Regions from separate parts of the Homo sapiens genome. Here regions 1, 2 and 4 are each linked to region 3. Evidence: promoter capture Hi-C in 16 types of primary human blood cells and fetal thymus (Javierre and others, 2016). All regions are on one chromosome and are shown on one strand. The core of a region is centred on a gene start or on the middle of the fragment in contact, and the rest is flanking DNA. Distances in the headings are between cores, read along the strand shown.

The links. Contacts are between HindIII fragments. The CHiCAGO score rates a contact against its expected background, and 5 or more counts as called.
Region 1: a contact is called between a fragment that was not itself captured here and the fragment with the promoter of SCAMP5 in region 3, in 1 of 17 cell types (monocytes). The highest score is 5.7, in monocytes.
Region 2: a contact is called between a fragment that was not itself captured here and the fragment with the promoter of SCAMP5 in region 3, in 1 of 17 cell types (naive B cells). The highest score is 6.0, in naive B cells.
Region 4: a contact is called between a fragment that was not itself captured here and the fragment with the promoter of SCAMP5 in region 3, in 1 of 17 cell types (neutrophils). The highest score is 8.0, in neutrophils.

What each region holds. Positions count from the first base shown.
Region 1 is chr15:75,363,058-75,365,770 of GRCh38, reverse strand. It overlaps MAN2C1 (mannosidase alpha class 2C member 1), which reads left to right. Exons shown (of 26, transcript NM_006715.4): 5 at 1,106-1,283; 6 at 1,583-1,772. Among named protein-coding and RNA genes, the nearest start is that of MAN2C1, 4.2 kb to the left of the region's middle. The HindIII fragment of the contact is 8,016 bases long and covers 1-2,713 here.
Region 2 is chr15:74,630,331-74,633,030 of GRCh38, reverse strand. EDC3 (enhancer of mRNA decapping 3) reads left to right here. Exons shown (of 7, transcript NM_025083.5): 7 at 85-2,473. The coding sequence ends at 419. Among named protein-coding and RNA genes, the nearest start is that of CLK3, 16 kb to the right of the region's middle. RefSeq lists enhancers at 731-880, 941-1,000. The HindIII fragment of the contact is 1,742 bases long and covers 493-2,234 here.
Region 3 is chr15:74,994,310-74,997,039 of GRCh38, reverse strand. SCAMP5 (secretory carrier membrane protein 5) reads right to left here and starts at 1,477. Exons shown (of 7, transcript NM_138967.4): 1 at 1,367-1,477. The HindIII fragment of the contact is 14,301 bases long and covers 1-2,730 here.
Region 4 is chr15:75,319,027-75,321,726 of GRCh38, reverse strand. It overlaps the pseudogene ANP32BP1. Among named protein-coding and RNA genes, the nearest start is that of COMMD4, 16 kb to the left of the region's middle. The HindIII fragment of the contact is 3,837 bases long and covers 1-2,700 here.

The DNA.
Region 1 (2,713 bases), core at 100-2,599, 370 kb before region 3:
ATAGTTTTTTTTGTTTTTTCGGGGGGGTTTTTTTGGATTTTTTTGAGACGGAGTTTCGCTTTTGTTACCCAGGCTGGAGTGCAATGGCACGATCTCGGCTCACTGCGACCGCCGCCTCCCAGGTTCAAGCAATTCTCCTGCCTCAGCCTCCCTACTAGCTGAGATTACAGGTGCCCACCACCATGCCCAGCTAATTTTTTGTATTTTTAGTAGAGACGGGGTTTGACTCTGTTGGCCAGGCTGGTCTCAAACTGCTGACCTCAGGCTATCCACTTGCCTGAGTCTCCCAAAGTGCTGGGATTACAGGAATGAGCCACCGTGCCCGGCTCATCCCGGTATAGTTTTTACTAGTTAAGATTGTATCCTGACTTCTTACATTCCATGTTATAACATGGACATTTTATGACACCATTAAAAACACTTCTTAGACATTATGAATGTATTTTATATAGATTGACACTGTTTCAGATGCTTTCAGACACTGGGAGTATGGTGGTGAATAAAATAGCCCTTGCCAACAAAGGGAGACAGATTCACTCATATAATTACAAAACTGAGGGCTCTGGAAGGAAATCCTGGGTACTCCACTGAGGAATTTGCTCTAGACTTAGCAGCGAAGTGGAGTCAGGAAGGCCTCCCTAAGGAAGTCGTGTTTGCTCTCTGAAGCCTAAGTATGGCATCACCACAGCCCAGCCTGTTCTCCAATGAATGGCCCGCCCATGTTGGCCGTGTTGGTTTTAGATCTTGGGTCTAAAAGTTTGAGCCTGGGAGATCCGAACATGATTTTAATATGCAAAGAGGGTTCCAAGACCAAGGCAGTGCTTTGCAAAGACAACTTTGGAAATATAAGACTAAACAGCAGCGTACTTTACATGGTTCCAAACTTTGCTACTTATTCTCTCTGACAGCAAGACATGGGATCCATCTGGTGTTTGTACCACAACCCTCCCACATGCACTCTTGTCACACTGTGGGATCCTCTGGGTAGTGGATCCTGGAAGCAGACAGGTTGGGCTCAGCTGGATGCCTCCTGGGTGCCCCTTCCCCAAGTCCCCGGAGTACTGTGCCAGTCCCTTAGCCTGAGGCTGTCTCCCCATCTTTGTAGCCTCACTCTCTATGTGGAAGTAGCCTGCAATGGGCTCCTGGGGGCCGGGAAGGGAAGCATGATTGCAGCCCCTGACCCTGAGAAGATGTTCCAGCTGAGCCGGGCTGAGCTAGCTGTGTTCCACCGGGATGTCCACATGCTCCTGGTGGATCTGGAGCTGCTGCTGGGCATAGCCAAGGTACTTGACACCCCCTGTACCCCCTGCTACCCTCTAGAGCCCTGCTCCAAGAAGGTTGTTCTTTGGGTCAGATAAATGGGACTCTGGGAATCCAGAGTAGGACGAGGGTTTCCACCTGCTTGAGGGTTGAGAGAATTTTCCTATGTGAAGGGGAGGAGGGAGACGGTGCTGAGCAGGGGGACCAGCAGGGAAAAAGGGTTGGGGGTCAGGGGAGCTCTGCTGAGAGCCCTGAGATCAGTGGAGCCTAGGTCTGGAAGCTGTGCTTGAAAAAGGGATTAAGGGGCAGAACCCTGCTGCAGGGCCTCGGGAAGGACAACCAGCGCAGCTTCCAGGCCCTGTACACAGCCAATCAGATGGTGAACGTGTGTGACCCTGCCCAGCCCGAGACCTTCCCAGTGGCCCAGGCCCTGGCCTCCAGGTTCTTTGGCCAACATGGGGGTGAAAGCCAACACACCATTCATGCCACAGGGCACTGCCACATTGATACAGGTAGGACAGCAGCTGGTTGGGCTGGCTGGGGAAGCAGGAGTGCCCTTGAAGACCTGGATGTGCCCTAGAAGCACTGTGTGATGCTCAGCAAGTTCTTGCTCCTCTTGGACCTGCGTTTTCCCCGTCTGTAAAACGGGGCCGGGGGGCTGGACTGTGGGCTCTGCTTGCTTTGGATTCACTTTTTTTTTTTTTGAGACGGAGTCTCACTCTTGTCACCCAGGGTGGAGTGCAATGGTGTGATCTCGGCTCACTGCAACCTCTGCCTCCCGGGTTCAGGCGATTCTCTTGCCTCAGCCTCCTTAGTAGCTGGGATTACAGGCACCCACCACAATGCCTGGTTAATTTTTGTATTTTTAGTAGAGACGGGGTTTCACCACGTTGGCCAGGCTGGTCTCAAACTCCTGACCTCAGGTGATCCGCCTGCCTTGGCCTCCCAAAGTGCTGGGATTACAGGCATGACCCACCGTGCCCAGCCTCATTTATTCTTTCAACAAAATCTGATGCCTCATGGGGCCCATGCTAGATATTGAGGGTAGGATTACAGAGACAGATTCAGCAGGCAGAGTTGGTGTCACAATGGTGGGGAGTCTGAGGCACTGGAGAGCACAGGAGAGGTACTTACTCCAGCTGGGTTGGGGGATTCCAGAGAGGCTTCCTGGACAAGTTTGCAGTGTCTGAGTTTTACGGGAAATCCACATTTTTAACAAGCTCCTGAAGGTATTGATTCTGATGCAGCCGAAGTTTTGGGATCACAGAACAAGGGCTTTCTCTGCTGTGCCAAGATGTAGGGTAAGGTGTGAGAGGTTCTGGGCTGGTAAGGGAGGAACTGCAGCCTGGGAGTCAGGAGAGGCTGTAGCACCTCTGGTAGGACAGCTGGCTCCATCCTGGGAGCCATGCCTCTGTTCCCAGGTATACATCAAGTTTGTGCAGGGGCAGGGTAG
Region 2 (2,700 bases), core at 114-2,613, 360 kb after region 3:
CCTTGGGGTGACCTGGGCCCTAGTCCCAGCCTGGGCTGCTCTCTGCTCATAGGGACTTTCAGATGGCACTCTTTCCACCTGCAGATCTGCCCACTAGCCCTGTGGACCTGGTCATCAACTGCCTGGATTGCCCTGAGAACGTCTTCCTGCGCGATCAACCCTGGTACAAGGCAGCTGTGGCCTGGGCCAACCAGAACCGGGCACCAGTACTCAGCATAGACCCTCCTGTGCATGAAGTCGAACAGGGCATTGATGCCAAATGGTCACTGGCACTGGGCCTGCCTCTGCCACTGGGGGAGCACGCAGGCCGTATCTATTTGTGCGACATTGGCATTCCCCAGCAGGTCTTCCAGGAGGTGGGCATCAACTACCACTCGCCCTTTGGCTGCAAGTTTGTTATCCCACTGCACTCTGCTTAGAGGGTTCCTGCGCAGGCAGGACTCTGCTGTCCCCTGCTGCTCCTGATAACAAACGCCTTAAGGATATGAAGCTTCATGGACCTTGTTAAAGTTTTTTCTCTTTTGGGTTTGTTTCTTCTGTGAGAGAACAGAACTTACTTAAAACTGACCTGTCACTTGCTCTTAGCCAGGGAAGTCTTTCCCACTGGGTTCCGGGCTGGGTGGCAGGCTGAGCGTGCAGCAACTCCAGGCATCTCTACCCTCAGCCCCCTGCACGGCCAGGTGGGCCTTTGTTTACAGCCGTAGGCAGCTCTCAAGACTGTGTTTCAGGTTTACAGCCACTGGGCCTGGGCACACACATTGAAGAGTGGGCCAGGTCCTGTCTGGGGGCCTGTACCTGCTCTATTTCAGAGCTTGTGGCTTTGTGTCTCCCCTGCTTTCCCCACGCAGACAGCCCTTCCTCTGTAGAACCAGCTGCACGGCAGCTGTCCACCAGAGGGCAGACCTGCACTCTCCATTCATGTCCAGGGCTGTGACAGACCAGGCCTTCCCCTAGCCCCACAAGTTGATTTGGGGGGTTTTGACCCTTACTCCTGAGCTGATCCAAGTTTTATGCTGATTTTTCCAAGGATCTCTCCCTCCTTTTCCCTCCATCACTCAGAGGTAGGGAAGGGGGCGGCATTAGGATGGTGTTACTGTATTGGGATTTTATGTTGTTCTGTCGTCTTCAGCACAGGTAGTATAAGGTTATATTACTGTAGAACCACAGTGCCCATCTTGCCAGCAGTGCCCGCCCCCACCCTCAAAGCTGAGCAGGTTGAGCCTTTGCCTAGTCTGGGGCCAGACCCCTCAGATGGGGATATCCCTGGGGGAGCCTGGTGCTGAACCAGAAGAGGCTTCCTGGTGCTTCTGTCCTAGGCCACCACTCCTCCAGCCCTTTGCCCGCACATACATGCCCCACCTACTCTTTCATCCCCTCTGCCCTTCCCCTGAAACGGTCCTTTGCAGCTGTCATCCCAGAGCAGGCAGATGGGCTCCCGTGCTTGAGCTCCACCCCAGCTCTTACATCATCTGGGCTTTGAACCTTTTACATTTGTCCAGTCTAGATGAGTAGGCTTGGGGCCAGCACCCTGTCTCAAAGATGGCAAAATGAGGCTAGTTCTGGATGAGCTAGCTGGTGTGGGTTCCAACCATAGGAACACACTGATGCTCAAATCCTAAGGTGCCAAGCTCTAGGCCCTGGAGGCTGGTAGAACAGGATCTATGCCTGGAATCCTGGCAGGGATTCCTGTCAAGGACTTGTGTTTAAGCCTGCTTCAGGGCTTCAGGCTGCTTCTGCTCTGTGTCTGCCCAGGCTGGCTGAGCGGGTGGATGGGTGGACAGAAGGGCTCACCAAGGATTGTGGACATAGGGTAGGCCCTGGTACCACGGGTTTCAGGCTGTTATCACTTCCCTTGTAGGAACATAGCCAGAAGCAGATGAGCCAGGGTAGAGGGCTGGCCCCTCCTCTCATCTTCCCTTCAGTCTTAAATTGTCTCCAGCGATGGGAAGAGGCCAGGGACTGTAACCCTTGTGCTGTGTATTCTCTGAGCCTCTGCTCACTCTCAGGGCCAAGCAGCTCCCAAGCCGGGGCCCTCTCTTGGCCAAAATCTGAGGAGCAGTCTAGGTTACAGGCTTTTTGGTAGGTAGGTTCTGGCTGCCTGTTAATGCAGTTAGGCCCCCTGATTAGGTACAGTGAGAAACAAGCTAGAACAACCCTGGCCCAGAAGACTGTCCACTCCAGCAAGATCCAGGGATGATAGCCTTGCAGGGCCACTGGGAGTTTGTGCCCAAGCTTCTCCCTCTTCTCTCCCCAGGGGGCACTGGGACTGGTCCCTGCCCTCATCCTTAGCCTGGGCCTTCCCCAGAGGTATTAAAGAGAAGTATGATTCCTCTGTCTTCAGTTCTTTTCAGGGGCATCCTGCCCATAGTACCCAGTTCCCAAGGGGCCCCCAGTCACGTGGTGAAGCCTAGCACTCATGCAGCTCTTAGGGAACCAAAAACCAGCACTGAAATAAAGCTGAATGACTGACTGAGTCCTGTGCCGTGTGACTTGCTCTGTAGGCTGTCATGAGGTGCTGTCTGTCCCAGCCTAGGAACCCGCCCCACTCGTCTCCTGCCCTCAGCAGGCCATAGTTGTTGGGCACATACAGCCTAAAGTCCTGGCCAGTAATGGGACTGGCAGGCTGTGGAAAACCAGACCCCACCTGGCTAGCCACGGTGGGCTGATTCCCTTAGGTTCTCTGGGGCTGAGAGGTACAGA
Region 3 (2,730 bases), core at 228-2,727:
ACTTGGGGAACTTGCTTGGAGGTGGCCACTCAGGAAACGGTTAAAGAAACAGCCACAGAGCCCAAGGTCTCTCTCTAGAACTCCCCTCCTGGGACCCCACTAACTCTCCAAGGGGTTTGCTAAACCTAAGACCCTCTTTCAGGGGCCCATTCACCAGAGACAGCCCCCTCTCAGCTCTAGAGACTTTGCCCTAAGGCTCACCAAGCCCAGAACAAACCTAAGTTAGCAAGACCTGTGTAGCCCCAAACAAAATCTCTCTGCCAATCATGCCCCTGCAAGAACCATCTCCCTCTTTCAGAGCCCTGCTCCGTGAGGCAGAACATGTAGGGGACAGGTTGCAAATTTCTCCAGACTCCACCACCCCATGGGCAGTCACATGGCTGAGCTCCCAGGCTCAGCCCCCAACAGCTGTGCTCGTTTTCATCCCTGTGCCTTTGCCCATACATTCTCCTGGAATGCCCTCTCTTGCCTCTCCTCCCACCCAAATCCCATCACCTCTGGAAGTCTCCTATTCGCTAGCTGTCGCCTCCCTTTCTCTCTGTGTCCCTGGGAAAGTCTGCCAGGCCCTCACTGATCTCCCCATCGGGAAGCTGGGACATTACTTGTTTAAGCCGCCTGTGACAGTGAATGCTCAGTCCGAGTCTCTACTTGGTTCCCCCAACCCACAGACCAGGAGCTCCCCGAGGCGGAGGACAAGGATCGGTTCACAAACACCTCACCTCCATCCTCGTGACCTCCGGCCAGCGTTGAAATGAGCCAAATCCGGCGCCCCCAACTCACCACCCAAAGCCCTGATGGAGCCCGCCTGGTGGCCTGGGCCAGCGCGCCCGTCGCCTCGCAACCCTGGGGCGGCTGAGGTCCGCCATCCAAAGGTCGGCCGCCCGAGGGAGGTGAGGGAAGTCAACCCGGGTCCACCTGCAGGCGCTAGTTGGAAGGAAAGGCCCAAAGGAAGCCACGGGCACCCCCTTCCAGTCGCCCCCATCCCCGGCTGCGCACGCCATCTCCAGAAGGCCGGTTTCCAGGGAACGCCAGGTGGGGCTGGCGGGGGGGATGGAGGGCCCAAAGCTCAGGCTCCAGATCCAGGGTCTGACGTCACCCAAAGGCCCAGTTCCCTCTGCGGGAGCCACAGATGGGAATGGGGGGGCTTGGGGGGCTCGGGGGGCCTGGGTGCGCCCTGAGCGCTCTCCCCCAGCCCCAAACAGTAAAGGTCACCTCCACTCCCACCTCTCCAGCAGTTCGGCCTTCTTCCTGCATCCAAAGGTGAAGTGTAGGAGGAACAAAGCTGCAGCCAGCGACCCCCACACCTCTCGCCCCGCGCCCAGCTTCCCTTCAAAGCTCTCCTCCCAGCCTTCATGCCCAGACTCACCTGCCGCGGCCGTTCGGCTGCCGAAAGGCCGCAGCGCTGCGCTGAGCTGCGCTGCACCCGAGCGATGCGGCGCGGAGCCGGCCGCGAGCCGCTCCGGGGCTGGGGGCGGGGAGCGCGCGCGCGCGCGCGCGCGCCCGAGGCCGTCTCTGCGCGCGCCCGCGCCGCCACTGCCTGCAGCAGTCACTCTCGCGAGACTTCCGCTCTGCTCCTAAGGCTGCTCCTCCTGAGCTCGCGAGAAGGACGACCCGGCCGCCCCGGCATCTTCCAGGAGCTGTCCGAGGTGCTAGTTCCCGGGCCCCGGCCGGATCAGGTGGTTGACGGGCACCTCAGGGACAAGAGCCTGGCGTGTAGGTGGAAGGAAGAGACCCAGAGATGGGAGCCTGGCACCAGCAGCCAGAGCCTCAGCTTCCATATCTGTAAACTGGGGAGAATAACCTCCTATACCTATGCCAGGAGCCTCTGGGACGTGCCAGAAAGGAGTGAGAAAGAGCTGAAAGCAGGAGAGTGTGGTGACTGCGGAAGGTCCTTCAGATCTGCAGGCGCAGGGGGAAAGAGAGAACAGAGGACGGAAGATCGGAGATGATATTCAGAGAGGCAAGGACACAGATCCACGGAAAGACGACATAGGAGGACGAGAAAGAAGAGCTGCAAACAGAGACAGAGACACACGGAGAGAGAGACTGAGATGAGAGCTCAAGGCCTGGAGAGAAAAAAGACATGGAAAGATAAGATAGGTAAGGGAGCATAATGAAGCAAGAAAGAGGCAAGAAATAGAGACAAATTACGCAAAGGAGCAGAGAGAGAGAGAGAGAGAGAGGAGAGGCTTAGAAAAAGAAAGAGACTCAGAAAAAGGAATGAAAGAGACAGTGATATGCAGAGATGAATACCAAGAGAGAGTAGAGGCAAGGGTAAATGTTTAAAAACCCAGAGCTTTGGAGGGTTGAGAGAGACCCACTTGGAGAGATGGGCTGGGAGTGAAGACAGGATTTTATTGTGATTGGTGTTTACATAGTAAACCTCCGTGGGATCTCTACAGGCAGGGCCAGGGCCACTGTCTGTCCTGCCAGCCAATTGCTCCTTCCCCTACACCATACACCCACCCTCCACCCCCCACCCACACCATCCTAGGCCTGGAAGGGGGCCTCAGTGGGTGGGAGACACTGCAGGGATTCTTTGCCTAGAATAAGGGCCCATTGTCTGGCTCCATCCTGCCAGGAGTGGGGCCTCACTCCCACAGCTGGCATGAAAAGGGGGTGGCAGTGAAAAAAGGCAGACAAGAACTAGTGTGGCAGAGGGGAAAAGGAGGGAGAGAGCCTCGGTGCCTGGGAAGGGCTGAGCAGGAAGCATCATCCTGCCACCAGGCC
Region 4 (2,700 bases), core at 147-2,646, 320 kb before region 3:
CTGCTCATGGATTTGGTAGCTGTTAAAAAAAAAAAAAAAAAGGTAGCTGATACAAACCCCAGGACACCCACCCACCCAAAGAGCCAAAGAATAGTTCCTGTGACATTCCGTCTTCCTCCATGTAGTCCCTCTTGGTAATCTACCAATCTACCATCGAGCTTAGGGACTTCACCCCAACAAAATTGTAAGTGTTGTTAGGTTTTTGTGTGAGACTCTTGCTGTAGCGTAGATAGCTGTGATTGGTGAGTCAACCATCTGTGGCTACCAGTTACACTGGGACTGTAACAGCATTTTTACTTTCTGTACAACAAAAATCTTTGTAAATAAAATCTTAACATTAAAATAACAATAATAATAATAATGTTGATTGTATGCAGGTCTGGCAAACCTTTGACACACTGAATGACTGGCATCTCTAATCCATCCAATTCACAATTGCCCCTGGCCAGGCCCTGTCCTAGGCTAGGTCACCTGCTGGAAGATAAGACTGTGGATTCTCTCCTGCTTGGCTTTGGGGTAGAGATGCCAGATAAGATATAGAACACCCAGTTGAATTTAGATTTCTGATAAAAAATAAACTATTTTTTAGTAAGTATGTACCATGCATATTTAGGACATACTTATACTAAAACTTATTTCTCTAAATTTTTTTTTCACCATCTTCACAGGTGTTGATATTTCTCTAAATTCTTTAATGTATGTATGTAGTTACTTTAAAGCTCTTGCCTGCTAATTCCAATGTGTGAGCCATTTATGGGTCTGCTTTCTCTCTTTTTTTTTGTGTGTGTGTGTGATAGAATTTTGCTCTTGTAGCCCAGGCTGGAGTGCAATGGCACCATCTCGGCTCACTCCAACCTCCACCTCATCTGGCTGGTCTTGAATTCCTGGTGATCTGCCTGCCTCAGCCTCCCAAAGTGCTGGGAGTACAAGTGTGAGCCACCATGCCTGGCCCTTTTTTTGTTGTTGTTTCTTTGAGATAAGTTCTCACTCTGTTGTCCAGGCTGGAGTGCAGCGGCATGATCTCAACTCACTGCAACCTCCACCTCCCAGGCTCAAGCCATCCTTCCACCTCAGCCTTCCAAGTAGCTGGGACCACAGGCACGTGCCACCAGCAGTCCTGGCTGGTTTCGTGGAAGACAATTTTTCCACAGACGGGGTTGGGGGTGGTGGTTATGGTATGAAACTGTTCCACTTCAGATCATCAGGCATTAGATTCTCATAAAGAGTGTGAAACTTAGATCCCTCGCATGTGCAGTTCACATTAGGGTTCACGCTTCTATGAGAATCTAATGCCTGCTGATCTGACGGCGGGTGGAGCTCAGGCAGTAATGCTCGCTGTCCACCACTCACCTCCTGCTGCGCAGCCTGGTTCCTACCAGGTTACCTACGGGTACAGTCCACAGCCTGGGGGTTATGGGCCCCTGCACACCACCATACCCAACTCGTTTCTGAATTTTTAGTAGAGATGGGGTTATGCCATGTTGCCCAGGCTGGTCTCGAAGTCTTGAGCTCAAGTGATCTACTTGCCTTGGCCTCCCAAAGTGCTGGGATTACAGGCGTGAGCCACCATGCACAGTGGGTCTGTTCATATTGACTGGGTTTCTCTTAATTTTAGGATATATTTTCTCACTTTTTTCACACATCTAGTATTTCTTGAGCTGTTGGACGTTGTGAACCTTCATTGTAGAGATGTGGGTTATGTTATCCTACTCTAGTGTTGAGTTTTATTTTGGCAGGGAATTAAATTACTCGTGGGTTAACTTGATCATGTGTGTCAAGGGTACATTTTAGGCTTTGTTAGGGTGACCTGTTTTTCAGTTTTGCCCTTATTCCCAGGGAATCTTCCTTAATCCCAAGGCATGGCCTTCTAGGCCCTCTGTGAATGTCTGGAATATTCATCAAGATCTGAGATTCCAAGAGTGGAGACTCTGGCTGAGCCAGAATTCAGATGTATCTCCAGCAGTCTGTGACTGAAATCGCTGTTTAGCTTTCAGCTCCCCATCGGCTGTTCTGTGCTGGGCCTTGCAGAGCCTCAATCTGCACACTCATTGTTTGGGATTTGGCCAAGGACCTGCAGCAACCTCTGTAAGATTTCTGGGGCTTCTCCTCTGCAACTCCGTCCTTTCTGATACTCTGCCACACACATTTTAGCAGCCCTGAGCACCAGTCTCTGTTTCCTTCACCAAACAAGACTGATCCTCTTGGCTTGGACTCTGCTTCCTCGTGCTGTCATTGAGGGTTTAGAAACTTTCCCCACCAGAAAAATGTAGCAGTCACTTCATGTGATTCCCTTCTCTCAGATTGTACATGGAACTGCCTATTGCCCAATGCCTGAAGACAATTTCTTCATGTACTTTGTCCAGCTTTGTAGTTGTTTATGCTGGGAGACCATCATCAATACAGGTACTCTATCATGGTCACAATTCGAAGTATGATTAATATCATATTCATTCTATTCTAAAAGTAGAGAAGACAAAGACCAAAAATTCTAAGAAAAATGGAAAAAAAAATATGAAAGTTCAAAGAAAAAGAAACCCAAATGCCGCTGACACACAGGAAAAAATGTTTAACTTCACTGATAATAAGAAAGATACAATTTTAGGCCGGGTGCAGTGGCTCACACCTGTAATCCCAGCACCTTGGGAGGCTGGGGTGGGAGGATCGCTTGAGGCCACAAAGTGAAGGTGGCAGTGAGGCAAG